Regions from separate parts of the Homo sapiens genome. Here regions 2, 3 and 4 are each linked to region 1. Evidence: promoter capture Hi-C in 16 types of primary human blood cells and fetal thymus (Javierre and others, 2016). All regions are on one chromosome and are shown on one strand. The core of a region is centred on a gene start or on the middle of the fragment in contact, and the rest is flanking DNA. Distances in the headings are between cores, read along the strand shown.

Region 1 (2,700 bases), core at 17-2,516:
TTCTTCAAAATCTGGTGCGTATTTTACACATAAAGCATATTTTGTGTGGACTAGCTACTTTTCTAGTGCTCAGAAACTACACGTGGCCCATGGCTGCCTTATTGAACAACATAGATGTAGATGAAATCATATGTTTTCCTTAGAGTAGCAAACAGGGATAGGTGGAGGGAGAGCCGGTATGGATTTGCCCCAGATCTCACAGGGAACCAGGATGCCAGCCAGGAAACTGACATCATTCTAATCTACAAACCATGTTCTCCAAGTTCTTTGGGGCCCCCAAATGTGCCCTCACTCTGACCCTTCCCCTGTCTGTCTCTGTCTCCTTTCTTCATTGTCTAGCTGGAGCCACTGTTGTATGGTGAACAGCACAGGATGTGGAGAAGGAGTCGGCTGGATTCCCAGCCTGTCCCTTGCAGGCTAATGACCTTGGGCAAGTTATTTAACCTCCCTGGTCTCAGATTTCTTTTCAATTAAATAGGATTAGTTCTTTCATCACTGAGGTCTGAGGATTATATAAAATCATAAATATAAACACCTCAGCACCAAATAAACACTATAGTTTTCAACTTTTTAATTATTATTTTTAAATGTGTGTGTGTGTGTGTGTGTGTGTTTGATGAAAACAAGAGTGGGGAAAAAATTGGAGACATGAGAAATGTTTAAAATATGTGTTAAAAATCCCAGGCCACATTCTACTCCTTCTTTAGTAATTGATGCTTAAAACTTCTCTCTGCGCTTATAAAAAGCATGACTTCAGCCCAGAGCCCCCTAAGCCTAGGTTATGCATACATACCCAAAGCACGAGAATAAAAAAGAGTTCTTGTTTTCAATAGAGTTTGTTCCATCACATAGCAATCCAGATAATAAGGGGGAGACACCCCACTGAGCACCATGCGGGGCTCTGCAAATACTGTAAATGTGCGAGGAAACATCACAGGTTCATATGAAGATGGCAAGAATTCTATCATCCAGAGGTCACAAGTTTCTCAGCCCCTGCAGGTTTCCCCACAATAAAATGGTGCTTTGCAGCCCTTAAGGAACCTTACCAGACTGAAACCTTTCAAGGTCCTAAAGCCTGAAGCATAAATGCTACACTCTATTTTCTAATTCAGCTGTAGCCCATACTCACCGCCTTGGGCTCTTTGAGAAGACTAATAAAATAAAGGGAAGACTCACCAGTTCATCCTCCTCTCCCTGGTTGAGCAAAGCCCGATGGTCCTTCTTACTGTTCTCTTCCATCTGAACTCAACCGGCGAGGATCTCTTCTGGCTAACTCCTTGGAGAAATGTCAAAATCCCTTGGGCTTCTGTGAACTTGGAATCGTCACAACTTGTGATTGCTCTTCCCAGGCGCTTTTAAAATCTCTTAGTACACACCTTGCCTATTAGACTAACAAAGGAAAGAGAGAAAATCTTCTCAGGAACAGGATTGGTCTGTTAATCTGGTTATTGTGGGTTTTTTTCCTAGTGTTTGTTTATTGAGCTAGATATGAGTGCCTCAAGACCTGAGGAATGACGGGGGAAGAAGTTGGCAAACTAGAAGGAGAAATCATTTTGTATGCGATCCATAAATGTCTCAGCCAAGGAATGAGAATAGTCACTTTGCTAAAAACCTAAGATAAAAGGATTAGCCAGTGAGAGATGTATAAAAACCCTGCAGACTTTGAAAAAGTAATGAACATATTGGGGGTGACAATGAGAATTGAAGGAAGGGAGGTAGGCTCATGATAGAGAATGTAGGAATCATTTTGGAATTAGAAAAATCTGAGTTCTAATCCGTGCTTCACTGAAGACCCTGGACAAATCACTTAAAATCTGGAATTTCAGTTTCTAGTACATAAAATGTCAATAATAACTATACAGTAATATAAAGATTTAAGATGATAGTCATAAAAAGCCAACGATAGCACCCACCACAGTCACTAAGAGAGAAATAATCATCATCATAATCATTACACTAACCAAGAAGAAAGAGGCTTTAAAAAGTAAACTATATTAATAACTTGATTCTTTTCATTTTCTCTTTAGAGTTTACAAAAGTTTTCAAATGAGCAAAGTATGTGGAGGGAAGAGATGCTAGAAAGTCCGAGGATTAAGGATATAGCCCAAATTTCAACACCACTGAATTTGATATTTTGATTAGAAAATAGGTATACTGTGATCCATTCCAGAGTCAGTTAATTTGTTTGTGATGAAAACTTTTGTCATTTTATTGGCTCTTATTGTATCCTTGCACTTTGACTATGGAAGAAAATTTGCTGGGAATGAAAACTATTAGGGATGATACTTGGCTGTTTCTGCTGACTGAAATAGACACTGATTGCCTTGAGCAGGCATAAGTGTCCAACTTGGTGTTCAGGAGAGATCAACGTGCTCTCTGGCCAGGAGAAAGTGGCTGATGAGAATAAACAGGAAGACAACTAGAGCTCTTCATGCCAGAGGCTCCCGAGGTACCCATACTGAAGTATAATGTGCCGGTGTGAATGTTGCCTTGTAAGTAGTACCAATCTAAGGTAAAATGCATATTTGAAGAAAGGAGTTCTGGATTTTAGTAAAACTTCATTAAAGACACGAGTGGTGGCTATCATTCACTTCTTACCCATCCGCTATTTACTTGTATTTCTTGCTGAAAGAACCCCAACTTTGTGCAGCATGACTTCAGCTAAAAGCACCAAGATGAGTCAATGATTTGTCTATGGGT
Region 2 (2,700 bases), core at 59-2,558, 720 kb before region 1:
TAAATAATAAAGTTACTTAAGAATTTTAGGCTTGGAAGTAGGCACAAAGGAAGCTAGTGTTTTGTGGAAGTTTGGAGGCCAAGTAGGAGGGCTGGGAATAAACTATAGGTTATCTGGCTGTGCTTCCCAGGTCCTTCCTAATTAGCATTAATGGGTAATACATAGTTGCAGTGTCACACAGGACAGCAGAATTTTTTTGAGATAATTGATTGCTACTAGAAATTTTTGAGAAATAGAGTTTATCTGTTGCCAAGAATGGCTAAAATCTGATCTGGATCTAAATGATAAAAAAAATAAATAATCTCCATATCAGCAACCCAATAGCACTTTGAATTTACATATGATTTTCTACAAGATATTTTATTTAAGCATAACAATAGCTCTGTCCTACTCTGGTATCTTGCCACAGATGGGCATTCAATGTATCTTTAAGAAGGGACACAACAAATGATAGCCGAGTTAAGGATTAGTCCCATTTTATAGATGAAAAGCAGAGGCTTACAGTGATTGAGGAAAAGTGACAGAGTCAGAAATGTTCAACGTGAAGCAGAAGAGAGGCTTCTTGAACGTAGTCCGTTCCTTTCCCCACACCACCCTGCATCACAGTTTGACAGACCTGTGTACCACTCCTTCCCTTACATGTAGAAACTGGTTATGGTTTTCGTATATTCAACAGAAAGAGTGTCCTCATGATATTTCTCTGATAAATGCTAGCTATGTATAGAAACCCACAGCTAATCAGCCACTTCTGACAGATCAGTGTGAAAAAAAAAATAGTCAACTAGATTGATGGACCACATTTTTTACTTTTCAGAGGAATGTGACAGTTTTCCCCCTCATTCCTTGGAGCAATGATAAAGAATCCTTCCAATTCTGTATTTGAGCACAAGGAACAAATTTTAGGAGTAATAACTCAATATTAATATAGTAAATTTTGCTGTATAGATTATGAAACATCTTCTTAAAGTCCTATTTTGTATATGGTGTATAAAACATCGATGACATAAATTCCACTCAAAATTCTCTGTGTGCAGAGACATCTGCTGCCTGGCCAATATCTATTCTCACTTCCTCCTTATTAACACAATCTCTGTATTGTTGATAGCAACAATGTGCCCAGCTACATATCCTAGCCACCCTTGTAGATAGGTGTTAAAATTTAAACAATTTTAAGAGGGACTTCAGAGAAGCAGAAAGCATTCCATTGACAGGCCTTTCTTTTTTTCTACATCTCTATTTCTAAAACTCAGATGTGATGGTTGGAGCTGCAATAGACAGACAGACATCTTTAGACCATGACTTGACCTTGAGGATGGAAGCTACAGAATAGGAACGCAGAATAGAAGGATTGAGAAAAACTGAGAGGCTGATGAAATCACAACATCACCATACCAGCCTCTTGACTTCTACATCAAGGGAAAATTAATTCTATTTAGTTTACAAGTATTACTTAGATTTCTGTTACTAGTTGACCCATTTAATCATAACTGATGAGTCCCCCAAAATATAAGTAAAATAAAGAGCTAGAAAATTTTGATTAGGACTATATTTTGAAATTAAAGAGCTACTGAGTAATAGATGGACGAGTGTCCCATGCTAATATGGCCTAGAAGAAGAAGATGATTTTCCCTAAATAAGGCAACCAGAAATGAACGTTATCAGGAGTCTGAGTCATGCCAGAAAGAAGATGATGATGTTTGCAAACCCGCATAATGATGCAATAGAGATGGGGGAATGGGAAGAGGTGAACACAAGCATGAGGATTTTAGAGCGAAAGGTCAGTGAAGCCATAGGAAAAGAAGCTGTTTGGGACTGGAGGGGAAGAATAACTAGCACTCCAGACACATGGGCCGAGAAAAGAAACGTTACATGCCAGAAAAGAAATTCCCTCATCCAGGAGGTTCAGGCAAAAAAAAAAAAAAAAAAAAAATTCTTTTCCTTGCAGTACCTAGCACAGGACTTTTTAGAAGGGTATGCACTCAATAAATGTATGTTAATTAATGTACAGCCATCCAAAAAATCAGTGACGGAAGCTCACCTGGGAAGCCTTACTCTCAAAATACTGGATAAAACACACTGTTTCATCCCAATCCTTTCTTAGTATCCTTTAACTGTCACTAAACAACACCTAAATTATAAGGTGAAAAGACACACACACACACACACACACACACACACACACACACACAGAGAGAGAATTATAGTAAAGCAGATACATGTAGTCAAAGCCTCATAGCACAAAAGGAATGAGAATTTAAACACACTCAGCATTCACTTGTGACCACTATTTAAAACTTCATGCTCCATATTTACACATTTGTTTCTCTAGTGCAGTGGTTCTCAGCCGGGGTGATCTGGCCCCCAGGGACATTGAGCAATGCCTATATCTCTGATTGTTATAACTGGGGTGGGAGGAGGGGTGCTACTGGCATCCAGTGGGTAGAGGCCAGGGATGCTGTTAACCAACCATCCTGCAATGCACAGGACAGCCTCCCACCTCCAAACCAAAGACTTAAGCCATACATATCCAGTAACAATGCCAGCTACTTCAAGATTATGGCATACTCTCTCCAATGTTGACAGTCTTTTAGTTCATGTAATATTTTTCAGAGTACCCAACAAGAAAACACCTAGCAGTGTAGGCTCATGAAAATGTAATGTGTGGTCTGTAATCCTTGACGCGACCTGGCTTCCAATGTA
Region 3 (2,700 bases), core at 123-2,622, 600 kb before region 1:
GATTCTGAAATTTATATGAACACACACACAAAACCTACAATAGCCAAGACTGTCTTGAGAAAGGACTTACACCCCTAGAGTTCAGGACTTTAAAGACACAGTAATTAAAAGTGTGGCATTGACATAAGCAGAGAGACATTAAACATAAAACACAATAAAGTGTTCATGAGTGTGTGTGTTTGTGTGTATGTTTGTGTGTGGTCATTTAGTTTTTAACAAAGGTACCTCAGCAATTCAGAGAGGATAAGATGATCTTTTAATAAATTGTACTAGGTCAATTGGACATCCATATAGAAAAGAAAAACAACCTTAATCCCAAACCTCACATCATACAAAAATTTAATTTAAGGTAGATTATAATAAAAATTTAACTTAAGATAGATTATAAATCTAAATAGTAAAAGGTAAAACAATAAAGCTTTTAGAAAAAACAAACGAGAATAATTTCAAGACATATTTGTCAGGTAAAGAAATTTTAACAGAACACAAGTAACAATTATCATAAAAGACGAGAGAACTTGTGGCCTTTTTTTTTTTTTTTTGAGATGGAGTCTCGCTCTGTCGCCCAGGCTGGAGTGCAGTGGCACGATCTCGGCTTACTGCAAGCTCCACCTCCCGAATGCACGCCATTCTCCTACCCCCATTGTATCTAGGAAGTAACTAGCTTGCTTTTGATCTAGGAAGTAACTAGCTTGCCTCCTGAGTAGCTGGGACTACAGGCACCTGCCACCACACCTGGCTAACTTTTTGTGTTTTTAGAAGAGATGGGGTTTCACTGTGTTAGCCAGGATGGTCTTGATCTCCTGACCTCATGATCCGCCGCCTTGGCCTCCCAAAGTGCTGAGATTACAGGCATGAGCCACTGTGTCTGGCCGAGAACTTATGGACTTTAAAAGCTTCTGTTCATCAAATACATCATTAAGAGGATAGAAAGAATAGGCAGAGAAAGATGTTTAAAATACATTTTAGATAAAGGACTTGTTTCCGAAATATATAGAGAACAATTACATATTAATAAAGAAAGACAAAATAACACAATTTCAAAAATGGGCAATAACTTGAACAGGCAATTTACCAACAAAGATATAAAAATATCCAGTAAGTGTAAGACAATCTATTAAACACCATTGGTTATTAGAAAATGCAAATTAAGACCGGGTGTGGTGGCTCACGCCTGTAATCCAAGCATTTTGGGAGGCCAAGGCAGGTGGATCATGAGGTCAAGACATAGAGACCATTCTGGCCAACATGCTGAAATCCCATCTCTACTAAAAATACAAAAATGAGCTGGGCGTGGTGGTGTGCACCATGTAGTAGCAGTCTCAGGACTGAGTAGTCCCAGCTACTCAGGAGGCTGAGGCAGGAGAATCGCTTGAACCCAGTAGGTGGAGATTGCAGTGAGCTGAGATGGCACCACTGCACACCAGCCTGGTGACAGAGTGAGACTCCATTTCAAAAAAAAAAGAAAATGCAATTTAAAACTATAATGAAACACCTGTATGTACCCACCAAAGTGACTACAAATTAGAAAAAAAAAAAAAAAACTATCAACACAATGTGTTGGTAAGAATGTGAGACAACTGGAAATCTCATACATTCATGGTGGAAGTATAAAGTGATACAACACTTTAGATACCTGGAATGATCTACTATCCTCCGAGTCAAAAATTCTATTTCTAGGTATATACCTAAAAGGAACAACTGCATATGTCTAACAAAAAAGTGTGCGAAATGTGCATGTCAGCATTCTTCCTAACCATAAAATACTGCCAAAAATAGCCCAAAGCTGGAAACAACCCTAATGTCCCCAGATGGATTGTAGACATAAATTCGAATTAGAAAAATCATAAAGCTTTTAAAAGATAATATAGAAGAATGACTTCAACTATCAAGTTAGGAAGAAATTTCTTTAATTTGTTATTTATTTATTTTATTTTACTTTAAGTTCTGGGATACATAAACAGTGTGAAAAGATTGATATACTTTATATTAAAACAAAATTAAGACCTCTGCTTTTCAAAACATAAGCAGAGGTCTTAATTTCATTTTAATATGAAAGAGAATGAAAAGGCAAGTCACAGAGTGGGAGAAAATATTTGAAACATTTTTAAGTAACAATCTACTTTGGTTTTATGTCCAAAAGGTTTGAAGGTATGAGTACTAGGAGACATGGATGAAAATATCCACAATAGTATTATTAATAAGTAAATACTGGGGACGAGTTAAATATCCATCAACAGCAAATAGTTAAATAAATAGTGGCATGTTTATATAGTGGAATATCAGACAGCATTGGAAGTTAACAAACTACTGCTTCCTGAAACACCATAGGTGAATCTCACAAACATAAAATTGAGTGAGAGAAACCAAACATGAAAAAATGATTCCATTTATACAAAATGTTAAAACACAGTCAAACTAATCACCTAAAAATGCAGAGGGCTACAGAAAAAACATAAAGAAAAGAAAAAGAAGAGATTATCATAAAATTGGACACAGTTATATTTATTAGGGGAAAAGAAGGTTGGAATTGGGAAGAAGCATAGATGGGCTGAGGGTGCTGGATAAGTTCTGTTTCTTGACCTCAGTGGTGGTTAAATGGGTGTTCACATTTACAAAAATTTGTTAACGTGAAGCTGCATATTTACATTTGTATGTATTTCACTTAATGGCATATTTCACAATAAAGACTGTCTGAAA
Region 4 (2,700 bases), core at 195-2,694, 920 kb before region 1:
TCCTTTCGTTCTGGGACTCCAGTTGGATCTAGCTTAGATATTTATTGTGTCCTCCATATCAGTTAACTTTTCTTTCATATTTTCTACCTTCCTTCTCTGCATTATTATGACCTGGGTAATCACTTCATATATGTCTCCCTTTTCATTTATTCTTTCTTTTAGCTGTGTCTGATATACTTCCAAACCATCTATTGGGTTTTTAATTTCAATTATATCTTTCACTTTTAAAAGTTGTATTTGATTCTTTTGGGAAACTAATTTGATCACATTTGAAAATCTTTTGTTCCTTCTATATCTAAACTTATAAATTTTACTTTTAAAATATTTTATACATAGCTCTGTATTATTCTGAAACTGACCATTCTAATATATGAAGTTCTTGGTTCTTGAAGGGTCATTAAGAATGCCCCCCCCTTTTTAAAAAAAAAATTTGGAGAGTTTGGTCACATTTAACTTCAAGGTCATATCTGATTCTATCTAATATCTTTACATTCTGAGGATCTATTTGTCTCCTAGGGAACTGAATTCCAAAATGGAAGTAAAAACACTTTAATTCTTTAAGGTATTATTAGAAAATGATTAACTATGTTTGCTTTCCTTCAGAGAATATTTGCATTTTTTTTGTCAGGATTTAGTACTGATCTGTGATCACTTTTGCTTGTTTTATTGGGGGATGAGGGGATGTCTCTTGCTTGGCTTGGGCTCAGCTCTCCTAGCATGAAGACCCATGGGATTAGTCTCCCAATTTCACGCTCATATTGATCTTTGCCTTGATCAGTTAGTTAGCAAAATCCATTTGTTTAAATCAAATTTAACTAATCTGGGTTTAAACTTTATTTCTCTATAAACTTGAAGTATTTTTAATAAGTATAATATCTATGTAAATAATACATATTTAGGACCAAAGATATTTCTTTCTCTCCATGCAATACTTTTGGTCTATTATTTCCTTTCTAATCAAAATTTGGCAAAAAGTTAAAGATGTATATCTACATTTCTCTCCTTTTTTTTTTGTTTTGTTTTTTGAGATGGAGTCTAGCTCTGTCGCCCAGGCTGCAGTGCAGTGACGCAATCTTGGCTCACTGCAGCCTCCACCTCCCAGGTTCAAGCGATTCTCCTGCCTCAGCCTCCTGAGTAGCTGGGACTATAGGTGCGTGCCACCATGCCTGGTTAATTTTTTTGTATTTTAGTAGAGATGGGGTCTCACCGTGTTAGCCAGAATGGTCTCAATCTCCTGACCTCGTGATCCACCCACCTCGGCCTCCCAAAGTGCTGGGATTTCAGGCATGAGCCACTGCGCCAGCCTACATCTCTCTTAACAAGAAAGGCCTGCATGTTCTATTTCCACAGTCCTTATCAAAAACACAAAGATTTTCCTGTTTCGTCAGCAGAATAAAATGAACATGGGGAGTGTCTGGTACAAATACAGTCTAGAAATGTTATGCACTCAAAAAGAGAGATACTTCTAAAATAAGGAAAAATAATTGAAAAGTACAAGGAGAAAAAAAAATTCAGGAATAAAAGGCTTACTTCATAAACCTAAAAAGGGCTTAAACCTTGTAGTCTGATAAACATGGTGCAAGGAGAGAAACACAGCAAGGTGTCAAAGGCATACTTCTCAGACTACATAGTTCCAGCCCTTTTCACACGGCAAAGAAAGTTTTAGAAAATGACAAAGGACACAAAACCATTAGCGATAATTTCACCAAAAATTTAAAATGATACTGATTGTTAATTACTACAGATCTGAGGAGAAAAAGGTGTCACACTAGAGAACAGGCCAGGTGACACATTCAGAAGATGTCTGGTACATAACCAGACAATCAATTGTGAGCTCAACAATAAGACGGACATTACAAGGCTCAACATCTATTCTGGATGTCTGTGGGCTTGGACATCTCAGTTTTTACAATATTTCCACTTTCTCTAATAATTATTTTAATTATTAATTTCAAATGGGGAGAATACTTTTTTAAAAAACTCCCCCAATTCTCAATGTATTTTCTCTTACTGGTGAGAAATTTACTTTTACTGAACTTCTAACATCAAAGCTAAGCCATAAGACTTATTGCTTGGAAAAGAGTGGGCAATTACTTCCTAAAATTAAAAGCCTATAGAGTTGGAAAGAAGAATAATATGATGTACAGAAAGTTTCCACCACATAAAATGCAGACATAGAAACTCTTTGGAGGAGAAATACTGTTTCGGAGAGGGGACAAGAAGAGGATCAAAAGCTCTCTGAGCCTCTTAGGTTTCTGATGACTCTGTCACTCTAGTTCTCAACTCAGATGGGGTGATGACAAGAAGATTGAAACTCTTGATCAGGAAGAAACTGAGAGTACAGAAGCCTTTGGACCCAAATCTTATGTGGAATTCTGGGAAGAGAAATAGTTGCAAGGAAACTCTGCATCAACATGGTGTACCTACAGCAGAATAGAAATGATAACATCATATATTTAGACAGAGAGATGGTCAGGGCTGGCCCCTTCTGCACACAGGATCTCTTTAATCTCTACACAGTTTATTGTGTTTATGGGATTAGATGCAATGATAACATTTTATAACTTTTTTATTTAACATTATATGCTAAATATAAACATACGTGTTGTTATAAACTTTTTATAACATTATCAATAACTGAATAATATTCCAATGATTTGCTCTAATGCACTTAGTCTTTACCATGCTTCTGCATATTTA

Evidence for each region. Contacts are between HindIII fragments. The CHiCAGO score rates a contact against its expected background, and 5 or more counts as called.
Region 2: a contact is called between a fragment that was not itself captured here and the fragment with the promoter of ATP13A5 in region 1, in 1 of 17 cell types (M1 macrophages). The highest score is 5.2, in M1 macrophages.
Region 3: a fragment that was not itself captured here is called in contact with the fragment with the promoter of ATP13A5 in region 1 in 1 of 17 cell types (M1 macrophages); the score reaches 8.0 in M1 macrophages.
Region 4: a contact is called between a fragment that was not itself captured here and the fragment with the promoter of ATP13A5 in region 1, in 1 of 17 cell types (naive B cells). The highest score is 5.0, in naive B cells.

Annotation. Positions count from the first base shown.
Region 1 is chr3:193,377,487-193,380,186 of GRCh38, forward strand. ATP13A5 (ATPase 13A5) reads right to left here and starts at 1,267. Exons shown (of 30, transcript NM_198505.4): 1 at 1,177-1,267. The coding sequence starts at 1,239. The HindIII fragment of the contact is 6,128 bases long and covers 1-2,700 here.
Region 2 is chr3:192,654,133-192,656,832 of GRCh38, forward strand. All of the region lies in intron 2 of FGF12 (fibroblast growth factor 12), which reads right to left. Among named protein-coding and RNA genes, the nearest start is that of FGF12, 72 kb to the right of the region's middle. The HindIII fragment of the contact is 2,815 bases long and covers 1-2,700 here.
Region 3 is chr3:192,776,972-192,779,671 of GRCh38, forward strand. No RefSeq gene overlaps it. Among named protein-coding and RNA genes, the nearest start is that of FGF12, 51 kb to the left of the region's middle. The HindIII fragment of the contact is 956 bases long and covers 895-1,850 here.
Region 4 is chr3:192,453,032-192,455,731 of GRCh38, forward strand. All of the region lies in intron 2 of FGF12 (fibroblast growth factor 12), which reads right to left. Among named protein-coding and RNA genes, the nearest start is that of FGF12-AS2, 61 kb to the right of the region's middle. The HindIII fragment of the contact is 7,026 bases long and covers 1-2,700 here.